Linked DNA regions of Homo sapiens: all the other regions are linked to region 6. Evidence: promoter capture Hi-C in 16 types of primary human blood cells and fetal thymus (Javierre and others, 2016). All regions are on one chromosome and are shown on one strand. Each heading gives the region's core, a stretch centred on a gene start or on the middle of the fragment in contact. The rest is flanking DNA. Distances are from core to core; before and after follow the strand shown. Region 1 has its middle 510 kb from the start of NYAP2. Region 2 overlaps LOC105373914 (a long non-coding RNA gene). Region 3 overlaps LOC105373914 (a long non-coding RNA gene). Region 4 has its middle 560 kb from the start of NYAP2. Region 5 overlaps LOC105373914 (a long non-coding RNA gene). Region 6 holds the start of IRS1 (insulin receptor substrate 1). Region 7 has its middle 580 kb from the start of NYAP2.

Region 1 (4,249 bases), core at 802-3,301, 890 kb before region 6:
TAAAGGCAAATCCTGGAATTTTTTTACAGACTTGAGGAGTAACTAAGGTGTATCTCATGGTCATTCTTTAACTCCTTCCTGAGATCTTTTTGAGTTATTACAATATAAAAAATGTTAGAACCTAATTTTTTCATTAAAATAGTAGTAACTGACAAAAGAGCAATGAATTATTTTTGTAAGGTTTTTTTGTTTTGCTTATCTTTAAGTTGTATCAAATGCCCTCCAAAGATACAACCAGGATAAAGCAACTTTTTAACTTTCAAAATTTGAGCTACTTTAAGGTTTACATTCCCTATTAGTACTGGTATTTCTTTTATGCATTTAAAAAATAAATTTCTAATTGAACTGTGCCTTTGTAAATATGCATATAGAACAGTATGTGTACAACCAAGATAAGCTAGGTTGGAGTGGATCTACGTTGAAAGCAACTCTGCTAACACCGTACACTTAAAGAGCACTTTAAAGATGTTACAACAAAGATGTTTAGTTACTTTTAAAATTACAAGTTACTGAGCACATCTACAGAATCCTTATAGAATGGATGCCAAATATCTCAGTATTTGATTAGAGGAAAAAAATGAAATATATCAAGCCCTACGAAGAATGAAAAGATGAGTGAAAAAAAAAGATGACTGTCTATAAAATAGCACCCATAGACTTCATTCGTTCATCTGTCATTCATTATTAGGTTATTCATTCACAATCATTTACTGGGGATCTATGAATGTGTCAGAGACTATGCTAGCTGCTGGGTTATGAATACTGTTAAGTGTAGGCCCCTGCCTCAAAAAGTTTATAATTTAAGTGAGCATATCATTTAATAATATAATATGATAAATCCTTCACTAGAAGCACAATTACAATGAGGAAAGTATCACATTTGAGAAGCAGTCCCAGTGCTAATGCATATCTACTTACCCAGAAAATGTAGCAGAAGGACTTTCTAGGATAGAAATATGCAACTCCAGGTAGAGTGGCAGGTGCACCCCTGATATGAAGACGGCAGTATGTGGCTGTTAGATCCTGATGCTATTAAACATTGGGAGCATTACCATGACTTCATTTGCTCTAATTCCAAGCTTATCAAGGCCACTTCCTTTTATATTCAACTTTTTGGGTGAATACACTTAAGGGAAGAGAATGGTGCTGGGCATTCCAATAGAAATATACCAGTGACCGGCCAGGCGTGGTGGCTCACGCCTGTAATCTCAGCACTTTGGGAGGGCTAGGTGGGTGGATCACGAGGTTAGGAGTCTAGACCAGCCTGACCAACATAGTGAAACCCCATCTCTACTGAAAATACAAAAAATTAGCCAGGCGTGGTGGCAAGTGCCTGTAATCTCAGCAACTAGGGAGGCTGAGGCAGGAGAATCGCTTGAACCCAGGAAAGGGAGGTTGCAGTGAGCTAAGATTGCACCACTGCACTCCAGTCTGGGTGACAGTGTGAGACTCCTTCTAAAAAAAAAAAAAAAAAAAGAAATATACCAGTACCCTTGACATTATATTTTTATTGTCAATTTACATTGTTGTGTAAATATATTTCCAGGTGCTTGATTACCGAGTAGTTCCCTCCCCTGCTTCTCCCCAGAGATACAGACCCTCTTCATCTGCTGCATAAATCAGTCTTCTGAGATGAAAGCAGAGTTCCAACCCTGAACCTTAGAGAATTCATCAAAGCAAATGCCACCTTGTTTCCCTGATGGCACTTCTGATCTCACAGCATGTCCTTTTTCAAACATCTACAGGTACATGTGTTTGTTATGAATATTTTACTCAGAATTCTTTTGTACTCTCAATTTGGGGTCATGATTGAAGTTAGCTGATGCCTAGAACATCCTTGTCCAAGAGCAAGGATGTTAATTATTCCTGGGTACAAGGGGTTCTCACGCTCCTCTGCACTGGCCCCATCCCAAACTTGAAACCAATTTTATGTCTCTTCACTCTCACCACGGAGTATTCACTTGCAACAAAATCCCCTTAAATTGATAGATTGTGCAAAGACTTTGTGGAGGAAACCTGGAGAGTCTGTGTGCAAATCACACAGAAAAAAACACTATTTGACTTGTTCATTATTTTTGTACCCCTCAAACTTCCGTGTTGGCTGTGCTCAAAGAAGCCTTTACAGAATCCGGGTACCCACAATGCTCTGCCTTCTGAAGACCAGCACTCCTGACTCGTGATTCTGAGGTGCTTTCACATCCATGGGGAGGTGGGTCCAGTCTCCATGCACCCACCAGTTATCCCTAAACCAAATTTACTTGTGGTAAATAAAGTCCTCTCCATCTCGTTTTGCGCTTTCCCTCGCACCCTGGTTTTGCATGTATGAGTTTGTATATCTCCAGCTTATAACCTACTTCCTATGCCTAATTCTTGCTAAGAAAGGTATTTTAAAAATTACCACAAACTTGGCAGCCTAAAATAGCACAGATTTATTACTCATAGTTTCTGTGGGTCTGAAATTTGGGCGTAGTGTGGCTAGATTTTCTTCTTAGAATTTCACTGGGATGAAATTTAAATATGATTTGGGGCCATGGTCTCATTTGAGCTCAAGTTTCTACTTCAAGCGCATTGATTGTCAACAGAATTGATTTCACTGAAGCTACAAGATGGAGATCCCCATTTTTCTTCTAGTTGTTGGCCGAAGTCAACTCGCAGCAAATAGAGGTTGCTGTTAGTTCCTTACCATGTGACGCCCCGCAGGTAGTTTACAACCTATGTTTGTCTTCTTCCAGGTGAGCTAGTGCATGTCTCTCTGACTTTCATTTCTGTGCCTGGTCAGAGAAAATATGTGGATTTTAAAGGGCCGGTGCAATTAGCTTAGGCTTACCTGGATAACCTCCCTTATCTCAAGGTTCACTGAATTAAGACCTAAATGATATCTGCAAAATCGCTTCATAGCAGTTACCTAGAATAGTATACTAATTAACTGGGAGAAGGGTTGTACACCAGTGGCTGAGAGTCTTGGAGAAACTATCTCAGAATTCCTCCCACTGCAGTCAGGTTTATTGTGAAATAAATAAAGAATAAGCTTCAAAATTGCTCACTTGCAGAACATTTTCCAGGAATCTGGGATGAGCCCTCTCTGTGTGTTCACATGTTCTTATTTTTATACAATTTTTGCAAAAGTCATATATTTTGTTAATATTTACTGAAGAAAACTGTTGCTTACCACTCCAAATTCCCTCTACTTTTTGTTTGGTCATGGCATTTTGGAGATTCAGCTAAGGGGAAGCTGAGTTAGGGATGTTTTAACTTCTATTTAGTGGGATGTTTTTATGTGGTCCCTGTCACTTCTGTATGCTAGCTGGGGACAGTTTCTGGGAGTAGTCCCACTGCTGTCCATTCCCACTCACCTGCTGGGGGAACACAAAGCCAGGCCTGCATTGTGTTATGAATGGGAATCATGGAACCCAGTCCCAAAAGCAGGCGGGAAGAGGCAAATGAGTTAAAATGTATAGAGCTGGAAGCTAGGCTGTTGAAAATTCTTCACAAAATCAGAAATATAAAATTACAATCAGGGAATTTGTTTCTCATCAAAGCCTGATTGAGAGCAAAAATTTCTACTTTCAGCAATATTATGAGTAAGGCAGTATATTCAATCAAAAATTCACAATGCTTTTTTTTTTTACTGGAAACACAATATTTAATAAAGTTCGAGTACATCATTGGATGTACTCCTTCCAATTTGGAAGGATGATTGAGATAGTTAAAAAAAATACACAAATTTGGCTTATATCTGTATGGTGTGTACTATCTTTATCAAATTTAAATATATTGATTAAAGAGTTGAAAGAAATTTCTTATAAAAAATGATATTTTAAACAAAAGTAATAAAGTTAAGCAATGAAGTCAATTGAAATTATTCTAGTACTGAGAATAAATTATAGCCAAAATATACACAGATTTTATCAAAAGTAATAATTCTTTAAGAGAAAGAGACATATTTTTAGTCACAGTAGTGAATAGTTTCTCTATTTCTTTACAGAAAATAATATTTTGAGTTTTTTTATGAAGCTGTGTTCAGCCAAATTATGTATAAAAGTCTTTCATTGTGTTATTTTTGTGGATTTTGTTATATTGTAGGTTTTTCAGCATTCTAAAATGTACAATTTTCTGATATCTTCTTATTCTAAATAAATATTCACATTGATTCCTAATTTTGTATTCAAAATATTGTTTAAATTTATTAAAGAAGGCCTCCCACACTGTAGAAGCTTCAGGCCCCTTAGCTCACACTCTGCTGTGTCTC
Region 2 (4,105 bases), core at 111-2,610, 910 kb before region 6:
AACAGCCAGCGTGTTCCTTTCACTAAAATATTGCACCCCTTAGAGTCTTTATATAAAAAACATATATACTCCATGCATGTGGTAGGTAGTATATTATTCTCCCATACTTGATGCCTCTCCTGGCAATAAAACTATACTCAGGTGAAACCAGGGACTCACCTTGTGAGCAGAGATACGTGACCCATCTGAGTAGACCCATCAAGGGCCAGCACATGGTCCACCAAGTTTGCTCTTCTTTCTGCCATCATGACCCATAGTACTTCTGCTAGAAGACTTCTCCATCAGCCTGGTTCCCAGAAGTGAAGATGAAACGGGGTACAGACACAGGCAACCTATGAAACACATAGGACATGAGAGAGAGGGACCTTTCTTGATGTGTTGCCCTAAAATTTTAGGATTATTTGTTATCAAAATATAACTTAGCCTGACTGATAAACCTCCTGAAAAGGATCACCAAATTTATTTATCTTTTGGTATTTGTAAACCAAGGAGAATCTTTTCCTCTACTGCTTTTCTGATCTCATTTTACTCCAGAAAAGCTAGGCAAATCAAGGGTTATTTAAATTTAATATAGACTATTTTTGTATATAAAATTAACCATCTTTCACTTCCAGTTCCAAAATGGCGTCACAGAAACAAGTCAGTTTTACTGCCCCCACCGAAAACCAAAAACAAATACACCACATGGCAATTATCATGAGCAATATCCCAGAACTCAAACATGAGAATGAGAGAGTTCCTGGTGTCACAGAGAGATGTAAAACTCTGAGCAGAACAGAATCAGACTCCCGTATCCACAAGTCCCCTATCCCTTTTCTGCCCAGGAAAAAGTACAGTGACAATTTCCTCCTAATTCACAGGTTCTACACTGGAAAAAGTGGGATCAAGGTGGACAACCAGCTTCCCCAGCATCTTGGACTCCCTAGCAGAAACTTTTCCCTGCCTCAACCCACAGGAATCATTGCTAGTGCCTGAAGACAGAAATATCTCTGGGGACATTCCGAGACAAAGTGGGGAGGCAGCACTATCACACCCAGTCCCAAAAACTTTGCTCTGTAACTTGGCCAAAGGAGAAGTGAGATCAGAGTGTCCATGTAACAGCAGAATGATGCAGGAAGGTTGTTCTACAGGCCCTTCGGCAGGAATGCCTAGCTGGCCTTCCCACACTACCAGGATATTACCTTTGGGACCTCTGCCATTCAAGATGGGCACAGTTTGATATGTTACTAGCTCCTAGGCAAACGTGAGCTTAAAGCAGCATCTAGGGCCTAAAAGGAGGCATCAACCTTGTAGGAAAAGAAAGAAAAGCAACAGGTAAATTACAAAGAATATGTAAGTAAACATACCCAATAAAAACCAAAACAAGCCAGACAAAGAAGACTGGAATAAATAACTCATCCTTTAATGCAAAGACATAGACATACATCCACAAGAAACTACAGCAAACAGGGACCTCCTTAAATGGACAAAGAAAGAAACCAGTGGCTGACCTTAAAGAGACAACAACATGTGAAGAGACAATCAACAAAACAAAGTGAAGAGACAACCCACAGAATGGGAGAACATCTTTGCAAACTATCAGTCTGACAGAATTAATAAGCAAAATATATAAGGAACTCAAACAATTCAATACCAAAAAAAGCAAATAATCTGATCTTTTTAATTGGCAAAATATCTGAATAGATATTTTTCAAAAAGGACATGCAAATGACTGAGAAGTCAATGAAAAGTGTTCAACATCACTAATCATCAGAGAAATGCAAGTCAAAATGAGATATCATCTCGCCCCAGTTAAAATGGCTTTTATCAAAAAGGCAGGAAATAAGGGGTGCTGGTGAGGATATGAAGACAGGGGGATACTTGTACACTGTTGGTAGGAATGTAAATTAGTGCAGTCACTATAGAAAACTGTATGGAGGTTCTTTAAAAACTAAAAATCCAACTTCCATATGATTCAGCAATTTCACTATTGGGTATGTATCCAAAAGAAAGAAAATACATAGAGGACATACCTGCACTCCCATGTTTATTGCAGCACTAGGGACAACAGCCAACATATGGAATCAACCTAAGTGCCCATCGGTGGATGACTGGATAGACAAAATGTGGTATATGTACACAGTGGAATATTGTTCAGCCATAAAAAAATGAAATCCAGTCACTTGCAACAACATGGATGGAACTGGAGGTCATTACATTAAGTGAAATAAAACAAGCACAGAAAAACAAATATTTCATGTTCTTATTCATATGTGGGAACTTAAAAAAAAGTGGATCTCATGAAGATAGCAAGTAGATTGGTGGTCACCAGAGGCTGGGAAGGGTAGAAGGGAGGAAAAATGAAGAGTAGTTGATTAATGGGTGCTAATATACAGTTAAATAGAAAAAATAAGACCTAACATTTGATAGATGAGTAGCATGATTCTATTGTTTATTTCAAAATAGCAAGAAAAGAATAATTTGAATGTTTTTAGCATAAAGAAAAGACAAATATTTAAGGTGATGTATACCCAATCACACTGTATGGCAGTTAATATTAGGTGTCAACTTGATTGGATTGAAGGATGCCTAAATAGCCGTATTGGGTCTGACTATGTCTGTGAGGGTGTTGCCACAGGAGATTAACATTTGAGTTACTGGACTGGGAGAGGAAGACTCACCCTCAATGTGGGTGGGCACCACCCAATCAGCTGCCAGTGCAGCTAGAACAAAGCTGGCAGAAGGTGGGAGAAGAGGGCTTGCTGAGTCTTCTGGCTTTCATCTTTCTCCCATGCTGGATGCTTCCATCCCTTATTCCTGCCCTTGGACATCAGACTCCAGGTTCTTTGGCCTTTGGACTCTTGGACTTACACCAGTGATTTGCCGGGGGGCTCTTGGGCCTTGAAGCTGCACTGTTTGATTCCCTATTTCTGAGGCTTTTGGACTCGGACTGAGCCATTACTGGCTTCTTTCCTCCTCAGCTTGCAGATGGCCTATTGTGGGACTTCACCTTGGGATTTTTTGAGTCAATTCTTCATAATAAGCTCCCCTTCATATATGCATATATCCTATTAGTTCTGTCCCTTTGGAGAACCCTAATATACACTGATTTGATCTTTATAAATTATATGAAAGTATGATATTACCCCATATACCCCAGAATTATGTACATCTATTATGTCAATAAAAAATTAATTAAAAATTTTCAAACTCTTCTTGCAATAAAAATAATCAACTGTCAATTTTCTCTATGTCTTATTTGATGTATGCCCCCTATAGTTATGTGACCTTGGACAGATCCCATAATCACCTTAGACTATATCACAATTATATCACAAATAATATATTATTTATTTGTGAAATATCACATTTGATCACTAGATGATGTCTAAAGCCACTCTGTCAATGAACATCTACAGTTCCATGAGTTTATATTCTGCTTTCCTTCATAGCAATTCCTGTAATTTGTAATAATCCATCCTGTTATTGTTGCTTTTTGAAGTCTCTCTCTCTTCATACTAGATTATAAACTCCATGAGGGCAGAGACCATCTCTGCCTTTTTTACCACTATTAGCTCAGTATCCAGTAGAATGTCTTAGATGTAATTAGGCAAATAAAGTTTTTATTTGTTTGTTTGGCTTTTATTACAAATGTTACATATGCCTTTGGTTTTAATGAAACATCATCTAGATTAATAGCTTTAAACAGGCATGACCTTGCTTTTGTCCAAGCTCAAATGTCTGTGTGCATGTCTAGACATAACACATAATATGTATTCTATATGTATACATTTTCCTTGAATTGGAAATATGCTTTGGTGTTGATAGTTTAAAATCTATGCAAATCATTCTATCAAATCATTGTAAATTAAAAAAAACTACTAAGCTCATATGTCTGGCATGCTAAAACATGTAAAGTTTTATGAGTTGAACAGAGGGTAGTAATTCAGTGATGGGTACATATTTTTAGATGATTTTTGTAGCTCAAAATTGATATGAAACAAAATATTACTAATGATAGTTGAATTTTTAAGCAGTTCCGCCTTTTGCCTCTAGATGTCTCACCTGGAATTCCCATTGTATAATAGAAGATCTTCTGATGCAACACCCCACTATAGGGCTTGGC
Region 3 (3,961 bases), core at 328-2,827, 960 kb before region 6:
TATGATTTGACCACATCTGTACAGTTACATACATATCAGGGTGGAAATGTAACATCACTTTTAATAATTTCAAAAACAACAGAAAATAACAAAGTTTAATACTCTCAAGCTGAAAATTTGGGATTCTGGTTTCAGAATTCCATGCTGTCTGATGATACGAAGATCTGAAATCCTATGGGAAGAACATGCTAAAAGCTCAGGCTTGGGAGCTAGCTGATAAATCCACAACCACCGCTAAAATGCTGAATTTACTCCATCAGGAAGCTCTTACCATTTGCTTTAATTGCAAGTTAAGAACTGACTCTTTTAGTCCAATACAAAAGCATACACATAATAGTCACTCACCACGCCACTGCAAATTAGTATTCAGAATGAAGGCAAACTTTTAAAATACCATTTTCTTTAGAACAAATATAATCAAATGGTTAAAAGAGCATTCCAATGATTTTTACTTCATTTCCTAGCTTTGTTTGCTTGTTTAATTATCCAGAAAATTGTGACACAAGTGACTTAATTTTTTACTGTAATCTTTATAAACACAAAAGCTTGAATTTCACTAATTCCAAGAAAGCAGAGCAGGGGTGGGTATTGGGGTCATGGTTTGTACCTGACACAAAACAAACTTTTTAATTGTATCTAATCAGAAACAGATTTTGTTTTGAATTCCGATGTTAAATCCAGCAGTTCACATTGAGAAATCTGTGCAGAGGCACCACAGATTTCTCTATTAGTCATTCATGCTGCTTTGTTCATGTCACTGTGACCCTGCAAAGAACACAGTGTCCTTAGAAACATTAAAATAATGTTCTAGGTGAACCTCATAAAGTACATTAAAGTTATAACTTTATCCTGTTTAAAGGACTGCAAATTTACTAAAAGATAGAAAAAAGTCTTTTTAATATATAATCTGGATTAAGGTACATGTTAGGTTTTGGAGGATCTATTGCTTGTATCAAAGTCACTAGATTTATAGTATCAGCAACTTATTATAAATTAATAGGATCAGGTTAGTATCTTTTTATCTTCTGAACAGTTCTTTTAATTTTAGGCAAAAAGACAGTGTAAAGAATCAAACAGAACATTGCCAAGCAAAGCCTTTTATTTCCAATTCTACTTTGGTCCCAGGTAGTATTTAACTATTTCCAACAAACAAAAATAAATATCATTTTTCATAAAGAGCTTCACAGTCAATCTCTGCAATCAAAGGAGTTTCTATGAAACAGATTATTCAGATAAATGTCTTTCTCTCATTCAATAAATAAACATTGAGTTAGACAAAGATTTCGTTCCAAGTTTTGAACACTTGCTGGTCACAGATGGACCAGTAAAACACAAGCCTGTTCTCAAAATGTTTACAGGCTCAGACAGAATAAAATGTGAGGGTCATCCTAATTATATTTGTACAAGGAATTGTGTAAGCATAGAAAACTATGAAAAACATAATTTTGATTACATTATTTATATATTTTTGTAATATGAGTAGTTCCAAGATCAGAGTTATGGCCACACATTGCTCTAATTAAACACTTAAAGCCACCTACAAGGTCTTAGGGCTATCAAGCAGCCAAATCCACGTGCGTGAGGCACAATTGAGATGATGATTTTATGCCAAATTCTATATCTTAACAAATAGAATTACATCAAGTACCATCTTCCTTTTAGAAAAATTATACTTGTATTTCTCAGACGTGGAAGTATCATTAGGAATTTGGATCTGTTCACTATGGAATAGTGCATGCCTATTTGGAATTTAATTTCTTGTTCACGTATGGAAAATGAATTATGTAACTTAAGCTGACATCTGACCAGGTACTTTTCTCTCCAACTCTCTGTCATTAGATGATGATGAATAAAGGCAGTAAAAATATTTTCTCAAAATCTAGGCAAATAGCCTGGAATTGTTGATGATCACTTAATAAAAAATTTTGACTTGTAGATTTTCTTAGGAAGCTGTAAGCTCATGAAAGTATTGAAGTTGATGATTTGAAAGATGTTTCATTTTTGTTTTGTCTTTTTAAATTCAGTACTCATGAAATGAGTTTTTAATTTTAATTTTTTTTAATTTTATTTTTTTGAGGCAGGGTCTGGCTCTGTCTCCCAGGCTGGAGTACAGTGGCATCAACTCAGCTCACTGCAACCTCTACTTCCCGGGTTCAAGCCATCCTCCCACCTCAGCCTCCCAAGTAGGTGGGACTACAGGTGCACACCACCACACCCAGCTAATTTTTGTATTTTTTGTAGAGATGAGCTTTCACCATGTTTCCTAGGCTGGTCTCGAACTCCTGAGCTCAAGTGATCCTCCCACCTCAACTTCCCAAAGTGCTGGGATTACAGGCATGCGCCATGGCACCCAGCCCCGTGACATGAGTTTAAAAAATAAAAGTCCAGGATGACTTATTTATGATTTATTTTCATACCAATTTGCCTTCATAGTTATCAATCTCTATATGAAGTTTTATTTGGATACAAATAAATAAAAAAAAAATTATAGGCCCCAAAGAGCTTTTGGAAGAAATTTTTGGAATGAACTATGATGCTTAGACTTTTGTGTTTTTTTAAAGGTAATTCTGGTTCAGTTTCATACATTGACTTTTTAACTCTTGGTAGTTGTAAGCTTCAGCATTGACCTAGAATAGCAAATTTAAAATAAATTAGCTAAAGTGTATTCAGATACGTAACTCCTAGTAATCTTTAGGGAAATAATTGGATATGGTTTGTCTTCTTCCTGTTCAGCTAAATATGGATTACCTAGCCATAGCAGTAACATTTATTGCAGGTCTTAGTATGTGTTGGGAACTCTATGAAGCGCTTTGTGAGTACTATCTCAAATAAGCCTTCAACAACCCTATGTAGTGTGCATTTGCATTAATTAAAAGGAAGCTGACTGCTATAACAGGGAAATCCCATCATCTGAGTACCTTACACAAAGATATTTTTTTCTCACTCATGTAAAGCACAGTTATGTACTTGGGAGCAGAACAAGGTGTATTTTCTATACAGTCTTTCAGGTGACTCGGGCTGAAGGAGGCACAGTCATATACAAATTACGTGGATTCCAATGATCTTTGTAGGCAATACAATCCACCAAATGGATGAAGGAAAAAATAGTAGAGAATCAAATGGGATAATTTTATTGGCCAGGCTTGGAAGTGGCATACATCATAGAACTCAGTCACATAGCCTTATCTTATTGCACAGGAGGCTGGAAAAGTGTTGCCTAGCTCTGCACCCAAAAGGAATGGGTATATTTGGTGAGTAGCTAGACAGTCTGTACCAAGGTACAGTGTATATTCTACTTTACTGCTAAAGAAAGTAAGGCATGAAGAAATTTCAACTCTAGTATATGACGGGCTACAAAGCACATCTATTACATATTGTCTATTTGTAAATAGCTTACTTTATTATATGTGTATGTCATTAATATGCTGTACTCTGAATGTAAAAGTGCACTTCATGATAACATACTGAGTTTGCATATAACAGATGTTCAATGACTTGACTAAAAATTTTTTTCAAATAAACTTCAATCTTATTTGGCAGTAGGTTACATCCTTGTAGGTTTTCAGTAACTAAATACGTGAAAAATCTAAGTATGCAAAAGACTAACGACACAAAACAATCTTGGTTGAATAATGGACTCTATTCAGTAAGTCTAAACTGACTGAACTATGGAGCTAGTAGAAGAAAATCAGAAGGCAATGTGAAGTAACTTGATGTAGTTAAAAGAAGTCTGACATATATTCAGAGGTGCAAATGATACCTTTCCCGAACTACCAGTAAAGGTGCCCAAGAGCACCACTAAACAGTGGGGCTGTGAACAGGTTGGCTCAGCAAACTCTCTGCCCTGACAGTTTAAATCTTGACCTAAACAACACAAGGATGTGGCGGGCGGGGGAAGGAAGAGTGGAGCTGATTTTTCCCAAAATTGAAGACCTTAAAAAAAAGAGCTATTAATTTATGC
Region 4 (4,188 bases), core at 1,033-3,532, 840 kb before region 6:
CATGACCCTTATAACATATCTGACATCAAAATAATTTTTAAGAAGGAAAATTATAGGACAATTTTACTCAAAAATATAGATGTAATATTCCCAAATTAAATATTAACAATATTAACAAAATAATCCCAACAGTATAGAAAAGGGACATCCTATTATAACCACATTGAGTTTATTCAAGACTATAATATAATCCACTACAATAACAGAATAAATTATTTAAATAATAACATCTCAATAGATAGATGGTTTATTCCAAGCATGCAAGATTTGTTCAATAGTCAAAGAATAATTAATATATGACATCATATTAACAGGCTAAAGAAATAAACCACATGTTCATATCAGTTGGTGCAGAAAAACCATTTGACAAATCTAAAACTCATTAATTACGCACCATCATTTATCCCTGAAAAATAAAAACTTATTTTATACAAAAACATGTACACAAATGTTTATAGCACCTTTATTTATAATAAGTCCAGATAGGAAACAATCCAAATTTCCTTCAATGAGTGAATAAACTATGGTACATCCATATCCTGAGCTACTACTCAGGAACATAAAATAACAAACCATTAGTAAATATAACAAGATACATGAATCTCCAGAGGATCGTGGAAAAATCACATTCCCAAATCCAAAAAAAAATCAAAATAAAGCCAATTCCCAAAGATTATATACCGTAAGATTCCATTTATCCAGCATTCTTGATTTGCCAACATTGTAAAAGCAGCAGAAAGAGTAGAAATTGCCAGAGGTTACAGAGTGTGGGGGTGGAATGAAAGACATTGTGGCTATACAGGGATGATTGTTGTGGTAATAGAAATGTCCTGTATCTTGACTGTATTAATACCAATATACTGGTTGTGATATTGTACTATAGTTTTGCAAGTTTTATTATTAGAGGAAACTGGGTAAAAAAGAAATGGAATCTCTTGGTTATTTCTTACAACTGCCACGGAACCTACAATTATCTCAAATTAAAAAGCTTTATTATAAAAAACAAAAACATGATTTCTCAATAAGTTCAGAAAAATCATTTGATAGATAATATCCCCTGTTCATATAAAGAGCCTTAGAAAATTAGCTAGAAAAAAAAACTTCTTTTATCTAATACAAACATCATGTACTGATAAAATTTTGGAAGATTTTCCTATAAGGTCCACAATAAAGCAAGTGTGGTGCTATCATAATTCTGTTTAATATTGTACTTGTGGTACGAACAAGTATAATAAGGTAAGAAAAAGAAACTCTAAAATGAAAAATACAATATGTACAACTTAAATATAAATATATGTATATATACATATATAAAAGATGGACTAAAGAGCAGAATGAAGAAGACATTAAAAGTTAGTAAATTTGAATGTGTATATATGCATTTTCCAATTAGAGGCACAGAGAGGAAAAAACTTGAAGAATAAAGCTGGACCTCTATCTGTCAGCATATACAAAAATTAACTCAAGGTGGATTAAAGACTTCAATATAAGACCTGAAACTATAAAACTACTAGAAGAAAACATAGGAGAAACACTTCAGGACATTGGTCTGGGTGAAGATTTTACTGCTAAAACTTCAAAATCACAGCAATCAAAATCAGCAATTGACAAATCAGACTATATTAAACTCAAAATCTTCTGCACTGAAAAAGAAACAATCAACAGAGTGAAAAGACAACCTGTTGAATGGGAAAAAATATTTCCAAACTGTTCATCCAACAAAGGACTAAATATCCAGAATATACAAGGAACTCAACCTGACAGTAACAAAAACACCAACAAATAATCCCATTAAAATATGGACAAAGGACATGAATAGAAATTTCGTAAAAGAAAACATACAAAGAGCCAAAAGGTATATGAAAAACTGTTCAGCATCACTAATCATCAGGAAAATGAAAATCGAAACCACAATGAGATATGATCTTAGCACAGTTAGAATGGCTATTTTTAAAAAGACGAAAGACAACAGATGCTGGTGAGGATATGGAGAAAATGGTACTCTTATATGCTGTTTGTGGGAATGTAAATTAGTACAGCCTCTGTGGAAAACAGTATGGATATTTTTCAAAAAGCTAAAAATAGAACTACCATATGATCTAGTAATCCCACTACAGGGTATTTATCCAAGAGAAAGGAAATTGATATATCAAAAGGATACCTGAACCCCAATGATGTAAACACACAGCACTAGTCACATTAGCAAAGATATGGAATCACCCTAAGTGTTCATCAATGAATAAATTTTTAAAGAAAATTATATATATAATTTATATGTAAATTTATAATATATATATTTAATGTACACACATACTATTTGGCCACTAAAAAAAAAATTATGTCATTTGCAGCAACATGGATGGAACTGGAGGTCATTACATTAAGTGAAGTAAACCAGGCACAGAAAGATAAATATTCATGTTCTCACTCATATGTGGGAGCTAATAAATATTGATATAATGGAAGCAGAGAGTAGAATGATAGATACCAGAGGCTGGGAAGGGTGTGTTAGGGAGAGGGTAAAGAGAGGGTGGTTAATAGGTGCAAACATGTGGTTAGATAGAACAAATAAATTTTAGTATTCAATAGCAGAGTATTTGATAGAGTAGTGTGGATATAGTTAACAAGAATGTATTGTGTATTTCTATTACTACTATTATGTAGTAGTAAATAGAGTAGTGTGACCATAGTTGACAACAATGTATTTTATATTTCAAAATAGCTAGAAGACCTAAAATGTTCCCAATACAAAGAAAGGTAAATTAATACTCGAGCTGATGAATACCGTAAATACCCTAATTTGATCATTACACATTCTATGCATATAACAAAATTTCACATGTACCTCATGGATATGTACAAATATGGTGTATAAATAAAAAATACAAATCTAAAAATATAGGTAAAATACAGGCTAAAGTAAAGCGAAAAGAAAGTGGTATTTCATGCAAACAGAAAACATAAGGCTGGAACGGCTAATACTATCAGACAATACATTTCAAGATAAATAGTGTGAGTATATCCAAAAATATCTTTCAAAATCAGAGGTGAAATAAAGACTTTTAAAGACCAAAAAAAGAGAGTATTATTACTAGCCGACTTGCATTAAAAGAAATGCTAAAGAAAGTTTTAAGATAAAAGGAATATGGTAACAGAAACTTGGATCTACACAAATAACTAAAGATCTCTGAGAATGGTTAAGATGAAGATGTTTTCTAACTGCTTGAAATAGTTAAATGAAGACAAATCCAGCCTTCAGATTTATTAAAGAACCCATAAGGACCTTCACCAGACTCTAGACTTTGTGGACTTTGTTTTAACATTTTACTGAATGTTTAGGCTCTTTATAAATATTTATCAAATAACATAGATCATATATTAATTCACTTTGTATCTCTGAAAACTATCATATGCCTGGCCCATCAAAAGCATGAAATAAATGTCTGATTGAAGAAAATAAAGATGGTAAAAATACTCTTTTAAAATGATTCACTGCTGTACCCTTTGCCTTGGCTGATAGTTGATATTAGAATCATACACTTGAGCAACATTATTTTCTTGAGAAACCAGAAAGTGAAAAGCTTCCTTATTCTGTTTAACTTTGTCCCATATAAAACCATAAAATAAACATGTGACTTGGAAAAAAATAAGGAAAAGCAAATCACAAAATCCAAATTTTTTATCTTTGCCTCTGCTTCCAGAAAATCTAAAGCCAGTATTAGATTAAACTGTTAGAAATTAGCTTATTTCAAATACCTCACTTAAATAGGCTTATTATATATGGATCTCAATTCTTTTGTTCCCCATGGGAAATCATTCAAAAAGCAGGCTAAAAAATTACACATACAAATTCCAGTGATAAAATAAATTGAAAATCGTGGTTCAGTGGTACTTGTATGTCTTTATTTTCTTCCATAGTGTCATGTAATGATGTCAAGCTGAGAACGTCTCCCAAGACCAGTTGTCAGAAGAATCTAATACTGGAATTCATGAAAGAGACCTTAAATACTGCTTTGTTACTAGTGTTCACATTATATGTATTACCAGCTTTTCTTCACAACAGCTCCAACCTTCAGGAAATTTGTGGAAAATACTATAAAGTGAAGACAAGAAAGACAACTATAAACATTGGATGTAATATTGGGACTACATATACAGGATGGGTGATAATTCTCCCTACTAATGTAC
Region 5 (3,816 bases), core at 931-3,430, 930 kb before region 6:
TCTGAATAGGGCGCTGTGAAGTAACAGAGGCTAGTTTGTGACTGGGTATCTTAATAAATGTGTCGCTGCAGTGGGAAGATCAAAATGGGGCTCGTGTTGTAATGGAAAAAAAAACCAGCAATTACTCACGTTGGTCAGAAGTGAGGAATGTGTAGTCATGTTGTGATAGTACCATGGCTTTGTCTGTGTCCTGGTTTGAGCATCATTTATGTTCTGATGGGAATATTGCCAGCAAGGCTTATCCTTACTTTCACTGGTTGCCAGTAAGTCTGATTTAACTTTTTAGTTCATTGCGTCCCCAGTCATCAATCTCTCCTTTGCTGATTATCTACTGAAAACACATCAAAGTTTATTTGTGTTTGTTTGTTTGTTTGAACAAGACAGGGATACATCTTAATCACCTGAAAATAATAACTATGATAACTTTGTAAAAGATGTATTAAAAACAGGAATCTCTGAAGACATGTAAACTAGTTAGAAGACAATTTTTTCAAATCTAGGTAAAAATTATGGAAGCCTTAGACACTCAGATTAGAAAGAATGAGAAAAAGTCACGGACACTTCCACAGTAGAATTTATGATTTACCTTGCCAAATGATGTGGGTTATCCGGGAGGTGTTCTGAAAGAATGTGCCAATAAGCATATTGAATATGCATATGCAATTAAGCAACTCTTTGAAAATATACATCATGCTAATGCTTTTATATATGCATCATGGTTATTAAACAATAATTGGAAGATGAGCAAAATATAGTCTTTACCTGCCTTTGTGCAGTTCACTGTTAAGAGAGGTATGCAGATATCTCAAAGACATCATGAAAATAAGTGACATAAGAATTACATAGAATCACGGACAGTGGGGAATTAGGACCTTCCCTGAGGACGTAAGCTGGAATTTGGGACTAGAAGTATCAAGAGAAGAGAGAATAAAGGCTAAGGCTGCATCATGAAATACAAATTCAATCTCTAATGCTACCAAGAAACAACATGAACATACAATATAAAGAACTAATTATTAAGCAACTAAGAATGCTATTATAGAGTGGATATGTGGTGTTGGAGAAGAAAGTAAGTTTGGGGGAGAGTTTAGAAGGTTGGAAAAACAGGTTAGGATATCTGTCTATGCTGATGAAATGTGACTATAAATTGTAGGTAACTGAGAGCCACAAACAAGATCAAGGAGTGAGCAACAGTGGTCTATTTCTATCATATACATTAATTTGGGCTTTTTATATTATCAATAATTGAAACTAAATTGGCCATGGTAAAAACTTACAAGAGTCATTTAATTTATAGTCTACCTTATTTAATATGTACTCTCCTGTACATATTAAACCTGCTTCTGCTTATAAAGACCTCCATTAGATTACACCATTTAATCTAAAATCCAGTTCCAGTATTAACAATCATCATTGCCCGGAGGTTTTGGTTTTTCTTCCAGCAGAAAGGTAGCTGCTTTCTTCTCTGGCTTGCTGGATCCTGCATCCTAGTAACCATGGAGCTGTGATCACTGTACCTTGAAGTCACAATCTCTACCACAGCCTCAGGAGCACTGGAGGCAGGCAGTTTAATTTGCCTTCAATAAATTAGGAAAGTATACTTTGTGGATGCACATCAGAACATTCCGTGCCTTTACAATTTTGCATTCCTTTTTTCTGGACTTTCTGAAAAGCTTCTCTCTAGGCTCTCAGTAAGCAGATTTGCTAATAAATAAACTCTCTGCATCTCAGTGTGCTACATGTAGAGTGAGAGAACCACCCGCCAACACCCAGGTATTTTAAAATCCCAACTCAAAGACTAAGAAGTCATGAAGCCCCCGGTAGTACTCACTATCCAAGAATGGTAACAGATAAGGACATGTTAATAATCAGAACCAGATGTGATGCTCAGCTGATAGGCACCTGGCACTCACTTAGGTCGTTAATATTCAGAATATTCCAGCAAAAACTGCTCAAACAGTCTTCTGTAGTTTTACTCTGTGGTGAAGCCATTCTAGAGGCTGAGTATAGAGTTTTAGTGATGTATTCTGTGGCATTTTAAATACCATCTTGTTTCTTCCCCTTCGTATTATCAGCCCTCCCTCCACACCTTCCTTGGCTACCTCCACTATCTGCTGGTTCCTGAAACCACATTTCTATCTTACAAGTTAATCGGGCTGGAATGCTCTCTGACTTCCATTTCTCAAGCTCCCTCAGTCACAACTCCAGGTCTTCCATCATTTCAGACAACTGATGAAATAATTTGTGAAAGTAATTTGTTTTCTAGTTTTATTGTAGTTTTCTAGTTAACCACTTTAGTTAGTTTTATTATTTGTTCATCTGGAAGACTTTCCTATCAAATATTATTTTAATCTGGCAATATCTTTGATTTGTATCACATTTTTAAGCATTTTATGTATACATGTAAATTTATATCTAAAAACTTATAGTATATATGTATTCATATGTGTGATATATATGTATATACATGATATATGTGATATATGTATATAAATTATATATATAGTCTACATTTGCTTCCTACTTCATGCAAAATATCTGTTCTTTTAAAATGAAAATTGCTTTAGGATGGGGATTAAATTTCTGCCATACTTGTTTCATGCTCATTATTTTATGTATTGTTGGTATAGTGAGCAGAACATCAAGAAGGACATAGTATATGAAATAAATGTACACATATATACAGAAAAGCTTATATGTTTTTACCTTTAAGAATTTAATATTACCTACATATAGTACATATTTGTATCAGTCAGGGTTCTCCAAAGAAATAGAACAAATAGGATATACAGATACATAGTTTATCATAAGGAATTGGGTCACTTAGTTATGGAGACTGAGAAGTCCCAAGATCTGTTGTCAGGAAGCTGGAGACCCAGGAGAGTCTATGGTGTAGCTCTAGTCCAAATGCCATCAGGCTTGAGACCCAAAAAGAGTGGTTATTTCCATTTGAGTCTGAAGGCATGAAAAAATGCCCCAGTTTGTAGCAGTCAAACAGAAGGAAATTTCCTCTTACTCATAGAAGGGCCAATCTTTTTGTTCTATCTAGTTCTTCAGTTAATTAAATGGGGCCCACACACACAGGGAGAGAAATTTTCGTTTCACACTCTACCAATTCAAATGTTAGTCTTATCCACAATACCCTTACAAACAAACCCAGAATATTGTTTGACCAAATAGCTGGGCACCCTTCGTCCCAGTCAAATTAACACATAAAATTAACCACTGCAACATTCAAGCTATATACCTACCTAAAGGGTACTTGTTTTAGTATCAGATAAAGAATATTCTGTGGTTTTGGAATTTAAAATGGGTTGATTGACATCATGTTAAAAAGTATTTTACATATTAAATTTATAACATGCTTCATTTTTAAAGATGTGAACTCACAAACCACACATTTATTGCCTATGCTCATTTTTCCTTTTCTATGGATACTTTATTTTATTTTATTTATTTTATTTTCTATTATACTTTAAGTTTCTATGGATACTTCAAAAAGAATTTAAAAAGAAGTAAAAAAAGAGCTCCTTTATGTTTCAGTAAGCATATTAGATGTGCATATAGAATTAATATATGTATAATATAGTCAAAAAGAAAGAAAATGTCTACTGGGAACAATTAGTTGCAAACAAAAATATTCCATCACTGTCATACATGACCAAGGAAAGGAACAAAACCCTTCTCTATTGGTTGCTCTGGTAAATGTTATTTTTAATTTAATTTAAACAAAAGACATATTGGCCAACAAATTAAAAGTCATATCCTTGGAACATTAAAATGCCTCTGCTAGTTTTTGTTGTCAAGTCTGATTCC
Region 6 (4,048 bases), core at 1,509-4,008:
TGGGTAGGCAGGCATCATCTCTGTGTACTCCTCAATGGAAGCCACTGAGGACTGGGACGGGGTCTTCTGGTGGGTAATGGTAGGGGATGTGCCTGCCGAGTGAGTTCTCTTTCGGAACCGATTATCCAGATCTGCAGCACTGGCTGCTTCATCCCCAGCCAAGGCTGGACTCGTGCCCAAGCCTGTTCCTGGGGTGCAGCGGTGGCCATTGCCACCCCGAGACAAAATGTAGTGACCGTTGGGGGCGGTCAGGGTGGAGGGCCCCTTGCCACCCATGCAGATATAGTTGCTTAGCTCCTCCTCACCGCGGGCTGGTGGGGTGTGGCCCAGGGAATCCGGAGTGACACTGCGGAAGGAACTCCGGAAATCGCAGGGACTGGAGCCATACTCATCCGAGGAGATGAAACCGCCATCGCTGGGGGAACCAGACACCGAAGCACTAGATCGCCGTGGGAAGAGACAATCCGAGGTGGAGCCATGGCCACTGGTGCTACTGGACGACAGACTGACCGGGCTGGTGGCCGAAGGCGAGCAGCGGGAAGCCGGCATGGGGATGGAGCGGCTGTGGTTGAGCGGGGGGTGCAGCCGGGCGCTGCCCCGATGCCGGTGGGCGTGGGTTCTGTTGGTGCTGGGACTCACAGGGCTGCCGTCCACCGAGGCTGGGCGGGACATGGTGCCTTCGCCGTCACTGGAGGCGCGGACACGGAAGGAGCCTGGCTTCCCGCCCACCATGCTGGCCGGGGAGGTGGCGGTGATGCTCTCAGTGCGTGATCGGCGGGTCAGCCCCACCTGGCTGGGCGGGGGATTGTTGAGATGGTGCCGGCGCAGGGGGACGCTGATGGGGTTAGAGCAGTTGGACGAGGACTGGCTCTTGCTGCGAGGGCGGAACTCATCACTCATGGCCCGCATGGCCTCCAGGATGGTCTCGTGCATGTTCTGGGCCACCACAGAGTCATCCACCTGCATCCAGAACTCCCCGGGCCCCGTCACGGCAGAACGGCCCACCTCGATGAAGAAGAAGTTTTCCGAGTGGCCACAGCGCCTGATGTTCATCAGCTGCAGCACCACGGCCGCTGCCTCCGAGTTCAGCTTCACGAAGCTGATGGTCTTGCTGGTCAGGCAAAGGCGGTAGATACCAATCAGGTTCTTTGTCTGACCCAGGCCCTTGGGCTTCAGGATCACTTGCCAGACCTCTTTGAATGCGGGTCCTGGGGGCACGTCACCGTAGCTCAAGTCCTCCCCAGCCTCACCAAGGCCGGAGCTGCCGCTGCAGCTGCCCCCACCACCTCCCGCCCCGAGGGCCGCAGCTCCGTCGTGGTGGCCCTTAGCACGGTTGTGCAGCTGTAGGAGAGCCTGGTACCAGCTGTCTTGCTCGGCCTCGCTGTCCGCCGCGATGGCAAAGTGCTCGTCCCGGGTGTAGAGAGCCACCAGGTGCTTGTTCTTGGAGTCAGCCCGCTTGTTGATGTTGAAGCAGCTCTCAAGGGGGATCGAGCGTTTGGGGGCGCTCGACTTGTGCCGCCACTTCTTCTCGTTCTCGTAGTACTCGAGGCGCGCCGGGCCCCCAGCCTCGCTGGCCGCGCGCAGTACGAAGAAGCGTTTGTGCATGCTCTTGGGTTTGCGCAGGTAGCCCACCTTGCGCACGTCCGAGAAGCCATCGCTCTCCGGAGGGCTCGCCATGCTGCCACCGCCACCACCAACGCTGAGCAGAGGGAGGCTCCGAAAAACAACCGGGTGGGGGGCGGAGGCTCCTCGCCGCGGCCCGGCACATGCAAACAGGGCTGGAGGCAGCAGAAACCCCGACTCTGAAATCCACGCCGCCCCCCGCGCCGGGGAGGGGCAGCTGAAGGAGGACGCAGCTGCTGAGCCCAGGAGAGAGCCCGACCGGAGTTTTCGGGCGCTTCACGCCCGGCGGGGAGGCAGTGCGTCCGGGGTGAGGGCAGCCCCGATCCTCCGAGAGCCAAGTCTCCTCTCAGCCGCCGCCGCCACCAGGAAGGAGCGAAGATGCATCTCTCGTCGCCCCGGCTGGAGTCCGGCACAGGGAGGCGACAGTCGGGGGTCCCTGCGGTGCCCCTCCAGGAGCGCGCGCGCGCGCGCGCCTTCCCTCCTGAGTTCCCCTCTGGAAGCAGCGATTCCCGAGGCAAATTAAATATCCTTGGGCAGGGGGAGGCGGGTTGCCAAGTCCCAACGTTGCACGGGGTTCTCCCTCCTCCTTCGCCTCCTCCCACCCCCCAACCGTCCCAGCCGCCACCAGCCGCCCAAATACCAGCTCAGTCGCAGAGACCGCGGCGCTGCGGCTGTTGCTGTTGCTGCTGCTGCTGCTGCTGCTGCTGCCGCCGCCCGCGGGCGCGTCCTCTGCAGCCCCCATCCGGGCCCATCTCGGCGGGTGGAGAAAGTGGCTTTTCCATGCGAAACGATACCGGGCAGCCACTGCAGCTGGGGACCGGCCGGAGGGACAGACTCATCCCTGCCCCTCGCTCCAGGCGGCTGGGGAGGAGGGGAGGGGACAAGGGCGAGAGGGGATGGGGGAGGTTTGGGAAGGGTTCGGGGAAGACGCCTGTTCCTCGGGAGGCGCTGCCGCTGCAGTTACTTCTCCCCTCCTCCCTCCTCCTCCTCCTCCTCGGAGAGTTGCCGAGAGCCCCAACCAAAACAAGCGGCGGCGTCTGGCTCTGCGCGCCGGCCCCCTCCGACCGCGCCGCCGTCTCACTCGGAGGAGAAAAACACGTGACGGAGCCTCCGCGCTCGGCAGCCGGGCAGCCGCCGCCGGGAGGCTCCCGCCCGGGTCTCTACATTCCGGGCCGAGCCCGCCCCGCGCCCGCCCCTCTCCGCCCCCCAGCCGTGCTGCAGCGGCGCCCGCGCCGACCCCGGCGCAGCGCTAGGACAGCGCCCCTGCGCGGCCGCCAGCTCCGGCGCAGCGCCTCCCTACACGCGCGCCAACCGGGGCGCCCCCGGCCCGCAGGAATCCCCGCGGCGGGCGCAGGCGGGGGTGTTTGGGTGGCTACCCGAAAGCACGAGGGGAGTCTGGGAAAACGGGAGGGGGCGAGCTCGGGAAGACGCAGGAGTGAGGGTGGGGGGCCACGGGGGGGCACTGCGGCTACAGAGCCCCGAGTGGGAGGCCGGGGGGAGGCGGGGGCGCCGGAGCTGGGCTGCCTCTTACCTATCAGGTAAGACTGACCCACGGGAGGGAGGTTTCTAGTCAAGGCTGTTTCCCCCAGGAAATTTAAAAGCTAGATTTCGGCTTCAGGGCGATAGGCCATGGTGAGGGGATCTGTATTTTTTAAGGTTTTTCTAAAGGACTTCTGGGCCAGCCTTCCACCTTGGGATCCCCAGATTTGCTGCCGTGAGGTACCTGGAAGGAACAGAGGGACGCCCAAGGGCAGTGACTGGGGGCAGTTATGGTCACTACAAAAGGAGAACAGGGATCCCCAGGAAGTGTCTCACGTCCGGCGCTGTGGAATTAGTTGCTGATCAAGTAGGGAGAAAATGTAAATATCACCTTTTCTCCTGCTCCCCTTGCCCATCCGTGTGACGGGGGGACTCACACCTAAGGCTGAGGGCATGGGGGAGGGGAAATGAGAGGTCCCTTATCATATTCCGAAGTCTATCCGTGACTTTAAAAAGCTGTTAGGGACCTTCAGAGGGTTCATAAGGCCAAAACCCTACTGTGCAAATATTGGCTGAAATGTTTGTTTCACACACAGCTCCCACACCCATTGAACCACCCTATAAGTTTTTAACCTTGACCACAAGGATAACAGGGAGAAAACAAGGATGGTGCCAGCTCAACTGTACAGGAAAATGGTTACTTCATGAGTGGACCAGATCAGCAGCCTGGGTCTACTTGAAGCGCCCCTTTCAGGGTCACCTTGCGGTATCAGTCTCCCCACAAACAAACGCTCCCCAGAGTTTTTTTATTTTTTAAGCCGACCTATAAACAAGCAGTTTGTCCCTGCTTGCTCGCCTGGCACTAAGGACCCACAGAGATGTCACTCGGTTTAATGCTGTCTCATTTTGATGCCTGGCCCGTTTGGGGTTGCCGCCCCTTTACTAC
Region 7 (4,265 bases), core at 371-2,870, 820 kb before region 6:
CTAAAAATACTTCCCAGGCCCTGCTTCCTCACTTTGGCTTTATCTGTTTAGCTTTATCTTATTCGTTAGGAATCTGCTTAAATGTCTTCTCTGTAGAAGGACCTTTTTTCTCCATATAGTCTTACATAAGTACCTCTATTACTATTTTACCAAATCCTGCTCCTTTCTTTCGAGGCATTTGTGAAAATTCCCTTGGAGTTAGATATAAAAATAAATAAGAGTCGATTCTTATTTTTCATAAATTTAAAATGTAACTGAAGAGACAGGCAAGCATGCCACCATAATAAAATGTGAACAATGCTGTGATAGGGGATTAACAAAGTTCTATGGCAAGACGGGGAGAGGATATATCAATCTGGCCTTTAGCAGGGCAAGAAGTGAAAGCTTCACAGTGTAACAGACAGTTTAGTTAGTTTAGTTGTGAACTTCAGAGTGACTCCGAATTCATGCGAGAGACATGTTTTGATCATTGAAAGAACTGCTATTTGAAAACTGCAGATCTCTGCTTCCTTCTTGAACAGTGCCATTGTTTACCTTTATCCTAAAATAAAGGATGCATTGTCTTTCCAGTTGATATTTTGATACAGAAGAAATGTACATGATACATCATCTAAAGAATATGAAGTCTTACAGAATTCTAGGACAACAGAATGAAAAGGGAGATTATGATATGATAATAGCCTCTGCTTTCAGACTTATTAATCCCCCATTTGTGTCCACATTTCCAAGCATAACTTCCCATTAGCAGTTCAACTAATAGTCACTCAGGGTAAGCAATTAGTTTTATGGCTAGCTGTTCTCTGCTCCACAGAAAAATTAAGAGCTGTTGAAGGATGCAATCTACTAGTAAAGCAACAAAATTAAAAGATTAGGTAGAGATAAGTAAAATAGTTGCATGTAATTTTAGGCTTATGTTCTCTTCCTCATCATTCCACAGTTATTTCTGAACTTATTTTGTTCCCAGATAAAGTATTAGCAGTAGTTTCTATTCTACTGTGTTTTGTTGATAGTGTGAGTTTGATTTAAAGAGTGGGGAGGGGAAAGCATTTTTAACTGTGATTATAATACTAAAGCTTTTCAAACATTGCCATGACATTAGTTTTGGGGTCCAAATTACCTGTAGCTCAACTCTCTACAGTAATTTCATTTTGATATTTATAAACTATTTCCAGGTAGATGACCTTAATCTATATCATAGTTCATAAACTAGTCAGCAGTATTAGACAATGTTCAATATTTAGGTCAAAATATGGATTGCATGTAAATACTGACCTTGAGCTACCACAAACTGAGGTACACTTAAATTCTGAGCAAATACAATAATTTAGGACAGGTAGATTTATACACATAATGTAAATAACCGTTTTTCACACTGATGACTCCTTAAATTACTAAAGTAATGATTATAGTCAATACAATATAATGTGATCTTGTTCCATTAAACACAGGATGCTGTTAGTGTGTTAGTGAAAACAGAGAAGTAAGAATCTCTGAAAGCTCACCCTTCCATAAAAGCAATAAAAGAAACTAGCAAAAATTGCCAAAATTGATTTTTTTTTTTTAGAACTTGGAGAATTAACAAAAGGCTTGCAGCAACCAGAGGAGAGTTTAGTCAAGAAAAACTGTTGAATATCAGTAAGAACAGTGGGCTCTGTCATGTTTTAACTTACCCTAGTTTCATCTTCTGGTTTTTGTTTCAGTGGTAGTCGGTTTCATCTTCTGGTTTTTATTTCAGTGGTAGTTTTTTTTTTTTTTTTTAGACCGAGTCTCGCTCTGTTGCCCAGGCTGGAGTGCGATGGCACGATCTTAGCTCACTGCAAGCTCCGCCTCCCGGGTTCACACCATTCTCCTGCCTCAGCCTCCTGAGTAGCTGGGACTACAGGCGCCTGCCAACACGCCCGGCTAACTTTTTGTATTTTTAGTAGAGACATGGTTTCACCGTGTTAGCCAGGATGGTCTCGATCTCCTGACCTCGTGATCCGCCCGTCTCGGCCTCCCAAAGTGCTGGGATTACAGGCGTGAGCCACCGCGCCCGGCCTCAGTGGCAGTCTTCAAAAAAAAAAAAAATCACAGCCTATATTCCTGGCACTTGAGGGAGAACAGACGTCATTCCCAAATGATTGCCATTATTTGACCTGTCTTGTGGTTCCCTGGAAAACCCCACTCCAAAAGCTTATCTTTATGCAAACTCACTTGAACTCCTCCAGTGCTAAATGCCTCAGGGAAGTGTGTGTGTGTCTAATGTTTTAGCATCACAGCTGCCCGAAGCAATGGATAAAAGTTGGGGCAAACAATAAACTAGTCAAAAAGCTTAAAAGAAAAAGCTGCAGAATGAGATACCCATAGGGCTTTGAAAAGCTCCAATATATCCCTGGAAATCTAGAAGGCATTGTGCATGCACAGGCTGTATGCAGCTGTGTTCATGCTCACAAAAGACAGGAGAGGTCCTAAGCTCTTATTCCTCACTGACCTTGAGGGTCAAATGAAAGTACATTAGACAACAACACCAATTCAGATAATGAAGTCAAGAGTACCAGTAAATGTAATAATTTACATTTGTATATGTGTAAAACTCAAAGACATTATAAATATATTTTTGTTTGTATGTCCTATTTTGCTCCTATCTGAATTAAATGACAACTGCATAATTCAATAATTAAAAATCTAAGTTAATTGGCACATAATGTGTAAAGATGTAACCTGTGATAATAGCAAAATGTAAGGAGATGGAGTCTAAAAGAACCAAAGTATTTGTATACTATTGAATTTAAGTTGGTATTAATGGCAATCTCTATACTGACTGCTAATAACTCAAAAACATATCATAAAAAAACTACCAGAAAATTAAAATTGTGCACTAGAAAATGTCTAACACAAAAGAAGGCAACAATGAAGAGATTGCAGAACAAAACAGACCTAAGATGTAGAAAACAAATAGCAAAATGTCAGGTGTAAATCATACCATATCGGTAATTACGTTAAATGTAAATTGATTAAATTCTCCAATTAAAAGACCAGGCTTGGTATTGTAACAACCCCAGGGGTTCACCTTGCCCACTGCCTAGACAGAGCCAATTTATCAAAACAGGGGAATTGCAATAGAGAAAGAGTAATCCACGCAGAGCTGGCTGTGCGGGATACCAGAGTTTTATTATTACTCAAATCAGTCTCCCCAAGAATTTGAGGATCAGAGTTTCTCAGTTTAATTTGGTGGATAGGGGCCGGTGAGTCAGGAGTGCTGATTGGTTGGGTTAGAGGTGAAGTTATAGGGAGACAAAGCTGTCCTCTTGCCCTGAGTCAGTTCCTGGGTGGGGGCCACAATATCAGATGAGCCAGTTTATCTATCTGCATGGTGCCAGCTGATCCATCAAGTGCAGGGTCTTCATAATATCGCAAGCACTGATTTTAGGTTTTACAATAGTGATGTTATTCCACAGGAGCAATTTGGGGAGGGTTAGAACCTTGTAACCTCCAGCTGCATGACTACTAAATGGTAATTTCTAATCTTTTGGCTAATTTGTTAGTCCTGCAAAGACAGTCTAGTCTCCAGGCAGGAAGGGGTTTGTTTTGGGAAAGGGCTGTTACCACCTTTGTTTCAAAGTTAAACTATAAACTAAATTTCTCCCAAAGTTAGTTCAGCCTACACTCAGGAATGAACAAGGACAGCTTGGAGGTTAGAAGCAAAATGGAGTTGGTTAGATCAGATCTCTTTCACTGTAATAGTTTTCTCAGTTATAATTTTGCAATCATGGTTTCAGTATAATGGGAAAGAAAACAAAACTGGGATCTAACTATATGCTGTATATAAGACATATACTTTAGATTCAATACAAAAATTAGCTAAAAGTAAAAGAATAAAAAGATATACCATGCAAATTGTGATCAAAAGAAGTCTGAGGCAGACATACTAATATCATATAAAATAGGCTTTAAGACACAAATTATTACCAGAGATAAAGAAGTAAAGAAGTAAAGATTGAGTAAAATTAAAAAGGAGAAATAGACAATTTTGCAATAATATTGGACTTCAATATTCCATTTTCAACAATGTATAGAAAAGCTAGACAGAAAACTAAGAAAGAAATGGAAGACTTGAACAACATGATATAAAAAGTTAACAACAGATATCTATTGAACACTTCACCCAACACCATCACAATTTTCACACATTGTTTTCAAGTGTACATGAAATATTCCTCAGGATAGACTTAAGGATGGTCTCTAAAATCAGTTACACTGAGTTTTTTAAAAATTGAAGTCATACA

Evidence for each region. The method cuts DNA at HindIII sites, captures the fragments that hold promoters and counts their contacts. A CHiCAGO score of 5 or more calls a contact.
Region 1: a contact is called between a fragment that was not itself captured here and the fragment with the promoter of IRS1 in region 6, in 3 of 17 cell types (neutrophils, M2 macrophages and M0 macrophages). The highest score is 5.8, in neutrophils.
Region 2: a fragment that was not itself captured here is called in contact with the fragment with the promoter of IRS1 in region 6 in 8 of 17 cell types (M2 macrophages, M0 macrophages, M1 macrophages and 5 more); the score reaches 12.6 in M2 macrophages.
Region 3: a contact is called between a fragment that was not itself captured here and the fragment with the promoter of IRS1 in region 6, in 1 of 17 cell types (M0 macrophages). The highest score is 5.9, in M0 macrophages.
Region 4: a fragment that was not itself captured here is called in contact with the fragment with the promoter of IRS1 in region 6 in 1 of 17 cell types (M2 macrophages); the score reaches 5.1 in M2 macrophages.
Region 5: a fragment that was not itself captured here is called in contact with the fragment with the promoter of IRS1 in region 6 in 2 of 17 cell types (M0 macrophages and M1 macrophages); the score reaches 8.8 in M0 macrophages.
Region 7: a fragment that was not itself captured here is called in contact with the fragment with the promoter of IRS1 in region 6 in 1 of 17 cell types (fetal thymus); the score reaches 5.1 in fetal thymus.

What each region holds. Positions count from the first base shown.
Region 1 is chr2:225,908,846-225,913,094 of GRCh38, forward strand. No RefSeq gene overlaps it. Among named protein-coding and RNA genes, the nearest start is that of NYAP2, 510 kb to the left of the region's middle. The HindIII fragment of the contact is 1,949 bases long and covers 1,078-3,026 here.
Region 2 is chr2:225,885,498-225,889,602 of GRCh38, forward strand. It overlaps LOC105373914 (a long non-coding RNA gene), which reads right to left. Exons shown (of 7, transcript XR_007088110.1): 2 at 160-332. LOC107985992 (a long non-coding RNA gene) reads left to right here. Exons shown (of 3, transcript XR_001739907.2): 3 at 861-3,221. Among named protein-coding and RNA genes, the nearest start is that of NYAP2, 490 kb to the left of the region's middle. The HindIII fragment of the contact is 6,048 bases long and covers 1-4,105 here.
Region 3 is chr2:225,842,471-225,846,431 of GRCh38, forward strand. The region is part of intron 2 of LOC105373914 (a long non-coding RNA gene); the gene reads right to left. The region is part of intron 1 of LOC107985992 (a long non-coding RNA gene); the gene reads left to right. Among named protein-coding and RNA genes, the nearest start is that of NYAP2, 440 kb to the left of the region's middle. The HindIII fragment of the contact is 2,069 bases long and covers 544-2,612 here.
Region 4 is chr2:225,961,789-225,965,976 of GRCh38, forward strand. No RefSeq gene overlaps it. Among named protein-coding and RNA genes, the nearest start is that of NYAP2, 560 kb to the left of the region's middle. The HindIII fragment of the contact is 2,593 bases long and covers 987-3,579 here.
Region 5 is chr2:225,867,097-225,870,912 of GRCh38, forward strand. All of the region lies in intron 2 of LOC105373914 (a long non-coding RNA gene), which reads right to left. All of the region lies in intron 1 of LOC107985992 (a long non-coding RNA gene), which reads left to right. Among named protein-coding and RNA genes, the nearest start is that of NYAP2, 470 kb to the left of the region's middle. The HindIII fragment of the contact is 1,018 bases long and covers 1,672-2,689 here.
Region 6 is chr2:226,797,062-226,801,109 of GRCh38, forward strand. It overlaps IRS1 (insulin receptor substrate 1), which reads right to left and starts at 2,759. Exons shown (of 2, transcript NM_005544.3): 1 at 1-2,759. The coding sequence starts at 1,677. It also overlaps a transcript of RHBDD1 not described here. RefSeq lists an enhancer at 1-847 and silencers at 1,578-1,627, 2,618-3,037, 3,058-3,127. The HindIII fragment of the contact is 8,747 bases long and covers 1-4,048 here.
Region 7 is chr2:225,978,919-225,983,183 of GRCh38, forward strand. No RefSeq gene overlaps it. Among named protein-coding and RNA genes, the nearest start is that of NYAP2, 580 kb to the left of the region's middle. The HindIII fragment of the contact is 1,099 bases long and covers 1,072-2,170 here.